Regions from separate parts of the Homo sapiens genome. Here region 1 is linked to region 2. Evidence: promoter capture Hi-C in human tissues and cell types (Jung and others, 2019). All regions are on one chromosome and are shown on one strand. The core of a region is centred on a gene start or on the middle of the fragment in contact, and the rest is flanking DNA. Distances in the headings are between cores, read along the strand shown.

Region 1 (5,901 bases), core at 417-2,916, 450 kb before region 2:
TAAGAATCGTTGCCAGCTACTCCCGCTGGGTCTCCCATCATGCCCCCTTCTTTTCCATTGTATGGCATATTTTCTTTTTTATCGTAATTGTTAAATTGTTTGTCTTCCCTGTTGAAACATAATTTGGGTGGAAGTGGGATTCCTGGTAGCCAATGGCTCATAGTAGACGTTCAACACGCAAGTGGATTGGATAGATGGAAGGATAGATGGGTAGATGGAAAGTTGGATGGATGGATGGATGGATGGATGGATGGATGGATGGATGGATGGATAGGGATTTTGGAGGAAGAGGAGTGAGCAGTCACTGAAAAGAATAGAAAAATAATGAGGCTTGCTCCCTCTCCCTAGTCAGAAGAGCCAGTAAGCAGCTTAGAGCTTTAATCCCACAAATTGTCAGGCAGCTGGCGCAAGAACAGGGAAAAAGAGAGAGAGAGAGAGAGAGAGACCCTGTCTGTGGTAGGTTATGGTCATCAGTGAAAAAGAACAAAAACCTTTGTTTTAAAACTCTCCTCAAAACAGATGATTGGCTAGAGGGTGCGGCACAAAGGAACTTGTCAGGGTGATGGAGACATTCTGTATCTGGATTGAGCAATGCAAGAACCTGGGTAAAGACACAGTCATGGTAACAGCTGTATACATCTGTTGAAAACTCATCAAACTTATCATATTTAGAAAGGGTACATTTTGCTTCATGTAAAGTATGCCTCAATAAAGTGTACTTGATTTTAAAATCAGGATAAAGGAAAAAAACATTGATCTTGGATAATGGGCAGGGGTTGGGGAGAAGGTCTTAATTATCATCATATCCTTTTAAAAACGTTTTTCAAGTGTGTGATGCTCTGATGACATTCTTAAGACACAGCAAGGCAAAGCAGTATCCCAAATGAGAGAGTGAGCATTCCAATAAATATTTTCTGTAAGACACTGATATGTCTATGACTATTTGCTAAATTTAAAAATCAACTTGGACCATATTTACTCCCTTAAAGTCTAATAGACGACTAATTTCTTCTATGTTCAGAACAAATATGTTGCTACTTTAAGAACAGCATACATAGGTGTGGTCGGCCCTCTGTGTCTAAGGCTTCTGCATCTGTGGATTCAACCAACAATGGACTGAAAATATTCCAAAAATAAAATAAAATTAATGAAACAACAACAAAAATAAAACAAATAAAAAAATGCCAGGTAACAACTACTTACAAAGCATTTACATAGTATTAGGTGTTAGAAGTAATCAAGAGATGATTTAAATCACCATCTATGATTGGCTGATATGCATAGGTTATATGCAAATACTATGCCACTATATATAAAGGACTTGAACATTCGCAAATTTTGGTATCTGCAGGGGATTCTGGAACCAAACCCCATGGATACCAAGAGACAACTATATATAAAATACTGAAAGAGGCATGGAGAGTGATTTTCAGGCCTCTACCTAAAGCCCTGAATATTAGAAATTACTGAATTTCTTCTCAGGAAGGAAATTACGCCATAAACCAGTGTTGCCACACACCCAGAGAACAAGATGACCCGACGCCCCAGCCTGGTCATGCCACATGAGCTGAGCAGTGGGTAGGCCACTGAGCCAGTGATAGAAATCACAAATTACAAAACGTCAGAGTACTTTCTGGAAATAAGCCTTCCTCTCCAGGGAACAACGCATTTGACACTTGACTGGGATACACTACCGGATCCTCCGAGGGTGATGGTTCTCAAGAAGGCAGAAGCAATGGTGACCAATAGACCTCCTTAAAGGCTGAGCCGCTGGGCACCTTCCTACTCCTCTCGACCGTGCTAGGATGACTGCAGCAGAGTCCCCGAGTCCTTTGATGCAAGGGTCTAGGTGAGTTCGAAGGAGAGCCATACTAGGCCAGGCAGAAAGGCCCATGGTGATGGCTGTCCACCCTGGTCAGGGGAATTCTAGGTTCAGGCCATGCGGCAAGGTCACCTTGAGGGACATGCTTTGCTCTAAGCTCAGCTTAAGTGTGTCTGAACCCCCCTCACTTCTTCCAACTGCAGAAGCACATGGAGAAGGGGGAGAAAGGGTTGCCCACCTCCTAAAATGAGGGCAGCGTGGTGAAGAGCCCCATCATGCCCCACCAAGGTCCTGTGTGCAGGGCAGGGCAGTGCCTATCCAGAAGGCCAGACCTCTAACTGCTGCTCTGTAGGACGTCCGGGCCTCACATGCAGGCTCCTATAAGCTGGCTGTCTTGGCAAGAGGGCCCTGGTACAGCACTGTGTTCATCACAGAAAACCACACCGTACATAATTTGTAACAGACAGAAATGCATTTGGCTCATGGTTCTGGAGACTGGGAACCCAGGATGGAGGGGCCACATCTGGCAAGGGCCTTCTTGCCATGACATGGTGGAAGGTATCACAAGGTTGGGGAAGGAGGGGTGGGCGGGGCGGGAAGAGAGAGAGAGAGAACAAGAGAGAGAGAATCCATTCATAAGGGTGGAGCCCTCATGACTAAACACCTCCCATTAGGTCCCACCTCCCAACACTGTTGCTTTGGGGATTAAGTTTCCAGCTGGCTTTTTTCAAACCTTAGCAACCACCAAACAGACAAGCCCTTCGGCCTGTCCTGGAGGGCGTTGAATGGCATGGCCTGGAGCTCAACCAGGAGAACCGTGCTCAGGAGGAAGAGACCAGAAGGATAACTCAAAAAGTTCTGAGAAGTTCCTAAGACCACCTGAAGAGAAGGAGCCTGCTGCCAATGGTGTGGACACCGCAGTGTGCTTGAGGAGACTTCAGAAACGAGAACTGGTAGGAGAAGGGGGTTGCACAGACCCTTTCCTCAGTTAGGCACCCTCTGCTCCCACCCTCATGCCCACCCTGACATCAGGCTAAGGGAGAGGCGCTCATCCATTGACAGGTGCCAGGCTGTCCTGGGCCTGGCAAACCCTGGCCTTGTACACCCACTCTCCACACGTCTGCCCCCACCCTCCCAGGGGCAGGGCCGGGCTTCCCTGCAGAGACACAGGGCAAAGAGGGAGAGAGAAGGCCTCAGGCCAGGGCATGGCCTAGTGCCTCCCAGCGCCAGGTCCTGACAGCCTGAGAGAGCTGGAATCAAGGAAGGTGATCCTGGGCCCCAGACAGACGTCAGTGAGCTTCAGCCTCTGGTGGCTGCACACCAGCCAGGGCAGCAGCGCCCCCTCCTGCCTGTGTTCAGCTGTGTGGGCTGCAAGAGGACTAAGGAGAGTTTCAAGGAGGCAGGCAGTGGGGGAGGAAGTGTCCCAGGTAGAGGCTGAAGCTTTAAGGAGGATGGGAGGGGAGGCTTCACCCGGAAGGAGCTTTTGGAGCAAGGGCCTGAAGGAAATTGGGGAGAGAGCCTGAGTATCTTTGGTAACTGGGAAGAGAGCATTCCAAGCAAAGGGAAAAGAAGAGAGGCTGTCAGACAAGTGTGCACCCACCATGTCTGGGCACATCGAGAAGGACCCTGTGGCTGGAGGGGAGGAAGGAGGGGAGAATGGAAAGTGAGACCAGAGGTGACCTGACCAGGGCCTTCGGAGCCCCGGTGAGGGGCTCAGCGGGTGGGTGTCATGGGTGTGAAGAGGTAGGTCCCTCATCACCAGTCAGCAAAGCGTTCCCTGGGCTCAGCTGAAGTCCTGCTGGAGTGTGTGCCCCCTGGACTGGAGGGGATGGGATTGGTGGGAATAAAGTTGTGAGTTTGGAGTTGTGGTGAGCAGAGCACGAAGTGAGCCCCCAGCACTGCCACTTCCGCGTGAGGGGTGAACTGGCCCTGCACTCTCTCCCCTTGAGTGTGGGCAGGACAACCCTCTCTGCCTACAACGGCTCAGCACTCGTACTACTGTGGGACAGTGCTTCTGTGATTACGTTCCTTTATAGGAAAAATTGATTTTGCAGATGTAGGTAAGATCTGGACTCGTTTGACTTTGAGTTTATCAAGAAGGATGATTGACAGACACAGTGGCTACTTGAGAGTGGAGGGTGGGAGGAGAAAGAGGATCAGAAAAAAATAACTACTGGGTACTAGGTTTAGTACCTGGGTGACGAAATAATCTGTACAACAAACCCCCATGACACAAGTTTACCCCAATAATGAACCTGCACATGTACTCCTGAACCTAAAATAAAAGTTGAAAAAGGGGCCAGGCGTGGTGGCTCACGCCTGTAATCCCAGCACTTTGGGAGAGGCCGAGGCGGGCGGATCACGAGGTCAGGAGATCGAGACCATCCTGGCTAATGTGGTGAAACCCTGTCTCTACTAAAATTACAAAAAATTAGCCAGGCATGGTGGCAGGCACCTGTAGTCCCAGCTACTGGGGAGGCTGAGGCAGGAGAATGTCATGAACCTGGGAGGCGGAGCTTGCAGTGAGCTGAGACTGGGCCACTACACTCCAGCCTGGGTGACAGAGCGAGACTCTGTCTCAAAAACAAAAAAAAAGTTAAAAAAAAAAAAGAAGGAAGATTATCCTGATGGGCCTGACTCAATCAGGTGAACCCTGAGAGGACACTGGAGGGAGCAGTGGTGTCCCCTGCTGGCCTGGAGCTGCCACAAGGTGAGACTGGGGTGCCATGTGGCCAGGACTTGAGGGCAGCCTCTAGGAGCTGAGGATGGCCCCCGGCCAGCAGCCAGCAAGGAAGAGGACACCTCCGTCCTCCAACCACAAGGAAATGGATTCTACCAACACTACATGTGCTCTGGTGAGTTCTGCATTAGTTCAGATGAGACCACAGCTCTGGCTGTCACCTTGATTTCAACCTGGTGAGACCCTGAGCAGAGGCCCCAGCCAACCCGTACCTGCAGTTCTGACCCATGGAAACCGAGATGATGAATTTGGGTTGTTTTGACCCACAGAAACCAAGGTGATGAATTTGTGGTGTTTTTAAACCTCCACAAAGTAGTGTGAGAAAATACACAGTAGTTGTTTTATACCACTACATTTTTAGGTGGTTTGTTATCACACTGGATAATTAAAACACCAATTTAAATCTTTTCTCAGCTAATTTTGTACCATTAGTGAAGCATAAACACTCCAAACTATACTACTGTAGTAAAGAAAACCACCTGCTTCTATGTGTGAGAACACTTGGGTGAACATATCAATAAAAAGGGTGAAGAAGGGACTCTAGCTGTATTGCATTTTGCATCATTTATATTCACTTCTATGACTATTTTTTGTAATACTGTCCAATGACTGTGTCGTCTCTTTTTGCATGCTTTCTATTAAAAAATAATAGTGAAAATTAAAAAACCCCAGTCTGGGCGCGGTGGCTCATGCCTGTAATTCCAGCACTTTGGGAGGCCGAGGAGGGTGGATCACCTGAGGTCAGGAGTTCAAGACCAGCCTGGCCAATGTGGCAAAACCCCGTCTGTACTAAAAATACAAAAATTAGCCGAGTGTGATGGTGTGCGCCTGTAATCCCAGCTACTCCGGAAGCTGAGACAGGAGAATTGCTTGAATCCAGGAGGTGGAGTTTGCAGTGAGCTGAGATGGCGCCATTGCACTCCAGCCTGGGTGACAGAGCAAGACTCAGTCTAAATAAATAAATAAATAAAATAAAATATAAAACCCAGCCAGTGCAGTGGCTCACGCCTATAATCCCAGCACTTTGGAAAGCCGAGGCGGGCAGATTGCTTGAGCCCAGGAGTTGGAGACCAGCCTAGGCAACATGGTGAAACCTTGCCTCTACAGAAAAAAAAAAAAAAAAGCTAGGAGTGGTGGCATGCACCTATAGTCCCAGCTAATCTGGAGGCTGAGGTGGGAGAATTGCTTGAGCCCAGGAGGCAGAGTTTGTGTTGAGCTGAGATTGCACCACTGCACTCCAGCGTGGACCACAGAGCAAGACCCTGTCTCAAAAAAAAAAAGAACCCAACAGCAACAAACCATCTTGATTGTTCTGAAGTCTTTCAAGAGCAATCACCTC
Region 2 (5,835 bases), core at 2,184-4,683:
AAATGTAGCTGTGAGCTCTGTGACACAGAGACACATAGAAACATAAGGGGGTTGGAGGAGAAACTGTCTTCCTCAGGGTTTTTTGGTCATAAGTAATAGAAACCTGTCCAAAGGTTCTGCTATGGTTTGAATGTGTCCTTTGAAAAATTCATGTGTTGCCAATGTGATAAAAGGTGGGGCCTTTAAGAGATGATTAGGCCATGAGGGCTCCTCCATCTAGAATGGAATTAGGTGCCCTTTTAAAAGGGCTTGATGGAGTGAATACACCTTGCTTGCCCTTCTGCCTTCCACCATGTGAAGACACAGCATTCCTCCTTCCAGAGGATGCAGCACTCAAAAGCACCATCTTGAATGCAGAGAGCAAACCCTCACCAGACAACTGAACCTTCCAGCATCTTGATCTTGGACTTCCCAGACTCCAGAACTATGAGACAATAAATTTCTGTTCTTTATTAAACTTCCTAAGACATTTTTAGTGCATTTGAAATTAAAATATATCTGATTCTCTAAAACACTTCAACCTGATATGGCAAACTCATAAACCTGACAAGATCTTTCTAAGCCTTTAAGCGATTATTGAAATTTAATAAATCTAGGGAATGAGCTTCTCTTAAGCTTCATGGTGGATAAGTATCGACTGTTTTCTAGTGTTAATTCTCCCCTCTTTTCCTTTTAGCTAAAACCCTTAAGCTTTAACTAGTTGCATGACCACACAACCACAGACTACATTTCCCAAGCTCCTTTGCAGCTGGCTGTCACCATGTGACTATGTTTGGGCCAATGGAATATGAGCAGATATGATGTGTGCTACAATGAGCGCATCTCCTTAAAGACACTTGCCATAGACTTTCTTCTTTCCCACTTCCCGTTGATGTGGTAGTGAGCCACCATCAACCATGCTTATGAAGATAACACCCTAGGCCAAGGGAGAACCAAAGGAGAGAAGGAACCAATTCCTTAGAAGACCTCAAATCACAAGGCTGCTTGGCCTCCAGCTCTGGACCATTTCACTACTGACTGTTAACAAAAAATGAAATAAACTTCTATCATCTTTGAGCCATTACATTTTGTGGTTAGATTGTACCCCAATAATACAACTTCCAAAGACTGTCTACAAATTCAATTAATTATATCCTCTTAAATGTTTCAAATTAAAATTGCAAGTGTAATATGCCAGGCTGTCTACTATGTTAGATTTTCTTCCATGTTCCAATCTCTTTAAATAACCAAAAGATTATAGTGATGATTTAAAAATTATTCCTAACCTTACCACAAAAAGAGTGTGTCTTCCTCCATTTTTTGCTGCTATAACAGAATGCCACAGACTAGGTAATTTATAATGAATAGAAATTTATTTCTCACAGTTCTGGAAACTGGGAAGTCCAAGATCAAGAAGATAGCACCTGGCAAGGGCCTTCTTGCTGTGTTATCCCATGGCAAAAAGTGGAAGGGCAAGACAGAGGCCAAGGGGGGGCCAAACTCATCCTTTTGTAAGGAACCCACTCCCACAATAATAGCATTAATCCATTCATGAGGGCAGAATCAAAACCAGAGTATTGTCATATTTTATTGATTCTCATATTGAATCACCCTCTCATTAGGCCCCACCTCACAACACTGTTGTATTGGGAATTAAGTTTTCATCACACTTTTTTTGGGAGAGACAGTTAAACTAACTAAAGCAGAGTGCTATATTTTGTTGAATCTAAGATATAAGATTCAACTTTTTTTTTAGGATATCACTAAGGTAGAAAAAACACAAACATTTATAATTTTTTGGAAATTTTCAACTTTTATTTTAGATCACCATTTATAATCATATGGTGCCATTGATTTCTTTCTTTTCTTTTTTTTTTTTTTTCCAGACAGAGTTTCACTCTTTTGCCAGGCCAGAGTGAAGTGGCACAGCCTCGGTTCACTGCAACCTCCATGCCGCACCCCCCAGATTCAAGCTATTCTTCTGCCTCAGCCTCCTGAGTAGCTGGCATTATAGGGTGCCCACCCCATGCCCAGCTAATTTTTGTATTTTTAGTAGAGACAGGGTTTTGCCATGTTGACCGGGCTGGTCTCAAACTCCTGACCTTGGGCGATCCACCTGCTTCAGCCTCCCAAACTGCTGAGATTACAGGTGTGAGCCACTGTGCGTGGCCTGATGCCATCGATTGTAAAATGCATTCTAATTCCCAAGATGGTAAAATGTAAAACACTGTGCACCTTAGAATCAGTAAAATATGATAGTATTCTGGTTTTGATTCTGCTCCTCATTGATTCTACACTAGTCTCTACATTTTCCCAGGGTTGCAAAGTCCCTTACCCAACTGAGGGGAAGAGAGTTGCTGTCTCCAGTGAACTGAGTCTACTGGTGGCAGATTCAGGACCTTGACTCAGTTACAAATTCAAGTTCTTGGTAGAGAAGTAAACACCAAATCTGGACACAGGTGCTTTGTACTTCCAGAATGATTTTGCCTGAGCAGCCATGAATACTGGAGTTGGAATAGTAGAGTTGGAACTTGTCAGCTGTGTCAAGAGAGTCCCTCTGTGCCCACATCTTTGCCCTGGGATTTAGTTTCATAACAGTGTATCATGTGTTTTCTGGGTGGCTTTCAAATTTCACCTTATGTCAATCTTAATTGAAACCTCTGTCAACTTTTCATCACCTGATTTGAGTGGGCAGATCCTACAAATACATGCACACTTTCACCCATACATACACACACCAGGCTAATCTCTTTGCTGAAAGATTAGGATTCGTTGAATGAGTGCTATTTGCAACACTCTTTATATTTTCGCCAATCTCATTGGCCATCATTTTGTAATTATTACATTAAAAAAGTAAAAACAAGGATGTATCAAAGGACTCAAGAGTGCATCCTAGAATCCAGTAACAGAACGTACATCCAGGGCTCCTGGGGAACTAGACAAGACATCCTTGGTTTCTCTGGGACTACATGTATCTTGTCTCTGCTCTGCTCATGAAGTGTCTGACATCACCCCACCCTCCCCATGCCATCTTGTCTGTTTGGAGACAAGCACTCTCTGCCTCTACATGCCCACCATGGAAGATGGCTAGCCCATAGCCCAGGTATCCTGAGGACACACATGCCAAGTTCAAGTGACAGCAGATACCACCATCTCTGATCAGGAGGAGGAATCTCACTTGACATCCATCTTCAGATCCATCTGAATCCACGAGAGTACAGTGATGGCATACAAATTCTTGCTTCCAAGAGAAGAACTATCCAAGAGAATTGTAGGCAGAGCAGGTCTCACCAAAGGTGGCTAGTTGGCAGCAGTACAGCTTGGTGGTCAAGAGCATGGAGCCAAAGCCAGACCGCCTGTGTCCAATGACTGTGTACCCTTGAACAAGTAACTGAACTCTGTGGTTCAGTTTCCTCATCTGTAACATAATCAGACCTAAGGCATAGGGTCGTGTCCAATATACCACACACAATACACGGAAAGTACAGTGCAGCCTGCAGTGTGGGAAGTGCTTAATAGCGGTTTGCCATTATTGCTACAAAGGCCCAATGCTTTAAAAGAAAAATTGATTCAGATCACCAAGCTCTGCTTGACTCTTATTCCCCAGATGTCCCCTCTTTCCACAGCTGGGGAAACCTGACTCCACTTGAAGGCTCAGTGGCACTCCAGGAGCTGAGAAGAAGCAGATCCTAATGAGCAGAAGGGATGTAAGGAGCTCTAATTTGGCTCTAACACAGTGCCCGGCTCCATCAGTGTTAGCCTGCAGCACATAATGGGTTTGCAGTGCCGTGAGGCTTCAGTAGAATGTAAGCTCCAGAGAACAGGGCCTTGGTCTAATCATGGTAAGGTCCTGGCCCCTGATACAATGCCTGACACAGAGGGTGATGAATAGATATTTGCTGGCAGAATAAGGTAGGAATTTCCTCTAGATCAAGCTTGTCCAACCCATGGCCCATGGGTCGAATGCAGCCCAGGATGGCTTTGAGTGTGGCCCAGGATGTCTCAGTATGGCTTTGAATGCAGTCCAACACAAATTCGTAAACTTTCTTAAAATCTATGAGTTTATTTTGCAATTTTTTAAAAAACTCATCAGCTATTGTTAGTGTTAGCATGCTTTATGTGTGGCCCAAGACAATTCTTCTTTCAGTATGGCCCAGGGAAGCCAAAAGATTGGACACCCCTGCTCTAGATGGTGGGCTGTCCCCACTTAACTGGGGATATCAACCTCTGTGCCCCCTCTGAGGGTGGTACCTGAAGCCTTTGGCTAGGTTGAGTTCCCAGGGAGGGAGATGAGGAAAAAGGGGGTCTAGCTGGAGGCTTGAGGAGCCTCAGCCTTGGAGCCATGGGTTCCATTTGGGACATAGGTCTCTGCCATTGCTGCTCCCCCCACATCCTCTCTCCCTGGAGGTGCCTTCAGCATGATCCCCCTCAGAAGGCCTGAAACACAAACAGCTGGGGAGGAATAGAAGACAGCGGGAATCTTCTAATCTAGAGTAGGGCAGGAAAGGGTGTCCTTCTCCTTTTCTGGGTCCGCAGCTGTGCAAAACAGTAACATTGCAACACCACTGGCATTTTTCTCCCTCCTCAGGTGGGAAATATTTACCCTGCCTAGAGCAGCTACAACACACACTGGTGACCCATCCCTGTGCCCAGGTCCCTATCTTACCACGCCATCCAGTCCCAGTCTCCTTTCCTGTCCTCTTGTTAGCAGACCTCCCGAGTACCAGGAAGCTTACCCCACCTCAGCCAGCGTGCCCCTCTGTGCCAGCTTCTGAGTTTTTCCTGAGGGGATACCCGTGATGCCATCGCTCCGGTCTTGATGGTGTTATTTCCTTGTGGCCTGGAAGTCTCTTGGCCTGCGCTGCTCAGCCAGAGCGTCCCACAAGAGGATGCATACCTCACTCCCATGAGCCCCACCCCGGGATTTTCATAGCTACTGTCAGGGACAAGTCGTGGGAAATGGGCCTCAAATGCTTTCCAGAAGCTTCCTTGCTCACTGCATGTAAAGCTTTAAAGCCCTCATTTAATTGTCTTCTTCCCACATTTTAAAAGTCAACACCCCTGAGGTGGGGCGCGGTGGCTCACACCTGTAATCCCAGCACTTTGGGAGGCTGAGGCAGACAGATCACTTGAGGCCAGGAGTTAGAGACCAGCCTGGCCAACATGGCAAAACCCCATCTCTACTAAAAATACAAAAATTAGCCAGGTGTGGTGGCACATGTCTGTCATCCCAGCTATTCAGGAGGCTGAGGCATGAGAATTGCTTGAACCCGGGAGGCAGAGGTTGCAGAGATCTTGCCACTGCACTCCAGCCTGGGTGACAAAGTGAGACTCTGTCTCAAAAAAAAACAAAATAAAACAAAAACACACACACACAAAAACAAAACCAGAGAGCCTTGGCTGCCCTACCCCAGGGAGGGGGTCTGGTTCCGCCCAGGAGGCTGTGCCCACAAGCTTCTGGCTAGCCTCTGTAAAACCTCCCCAGATCAATAGATAAGCCAAGAGGAGGAATCGAGTCATAGGGAGCAGGAAGGCCAGGCTGGGGACAGGACAGGGACAGCCCATGCTTGAGGGACAATTGAGAAGAGGAGGTACCTGTCAAATTAGGCTTCAGGGTTTTAAAAGATTGTTATTTGTATTTTGCTATTGTAAGATTACTGTAACCTTACTACGGAAAATTCAGGAAACAAAAAAATGCCCATAATCCCACAATCCAAGCTGAGCCACTGTTGACACTTTAGAGGTTTCTTTCTAAACTTTTATGGATATGTGTTATTTAATCAGACGGTACATATAATTTTATATTCCATTTTTTCATTGATATCTAATCATGAGCTTGTCAATGTTTTTAACTAA

The links. Contacts are between HindIII fragments. The study calls those that stand out against the background at their distance.
Region 1: the fragment with the promoter of KCNE1 here is called in contact with a fragment that was not itself captured in region 2 in 1 of the 25 tissues and cell types used here (liver).

What each region holds. Positions count from the first base shown.
Region 1 is chr21:34,507,975-34,513,875 of GRCh38, reverse strand. It overlaps KCNE1 (potassium voltage-gated channel subfamily E regulatory subunit 1), which reads left to right and starts at 1,666. Exons shown (of 4, transcript NM_000219.6): 1 at 1,666-1,849; 2 at 2,561-2,775. The HindIII fragment of the contact is 8,709 bases long and covers 1-4,881 here.
Region 2 is chr21:34,057,122-34,062,956 of GRCh38, reverse strand. No RefSeq gene overlaps it. Among named protein-coding and RNA genes, the nearest start is that of MRPS6, 14 kb to the left of the region's middle. The HindIII fragment of the contact is 6,965 bases long and covers 1-5,835 here.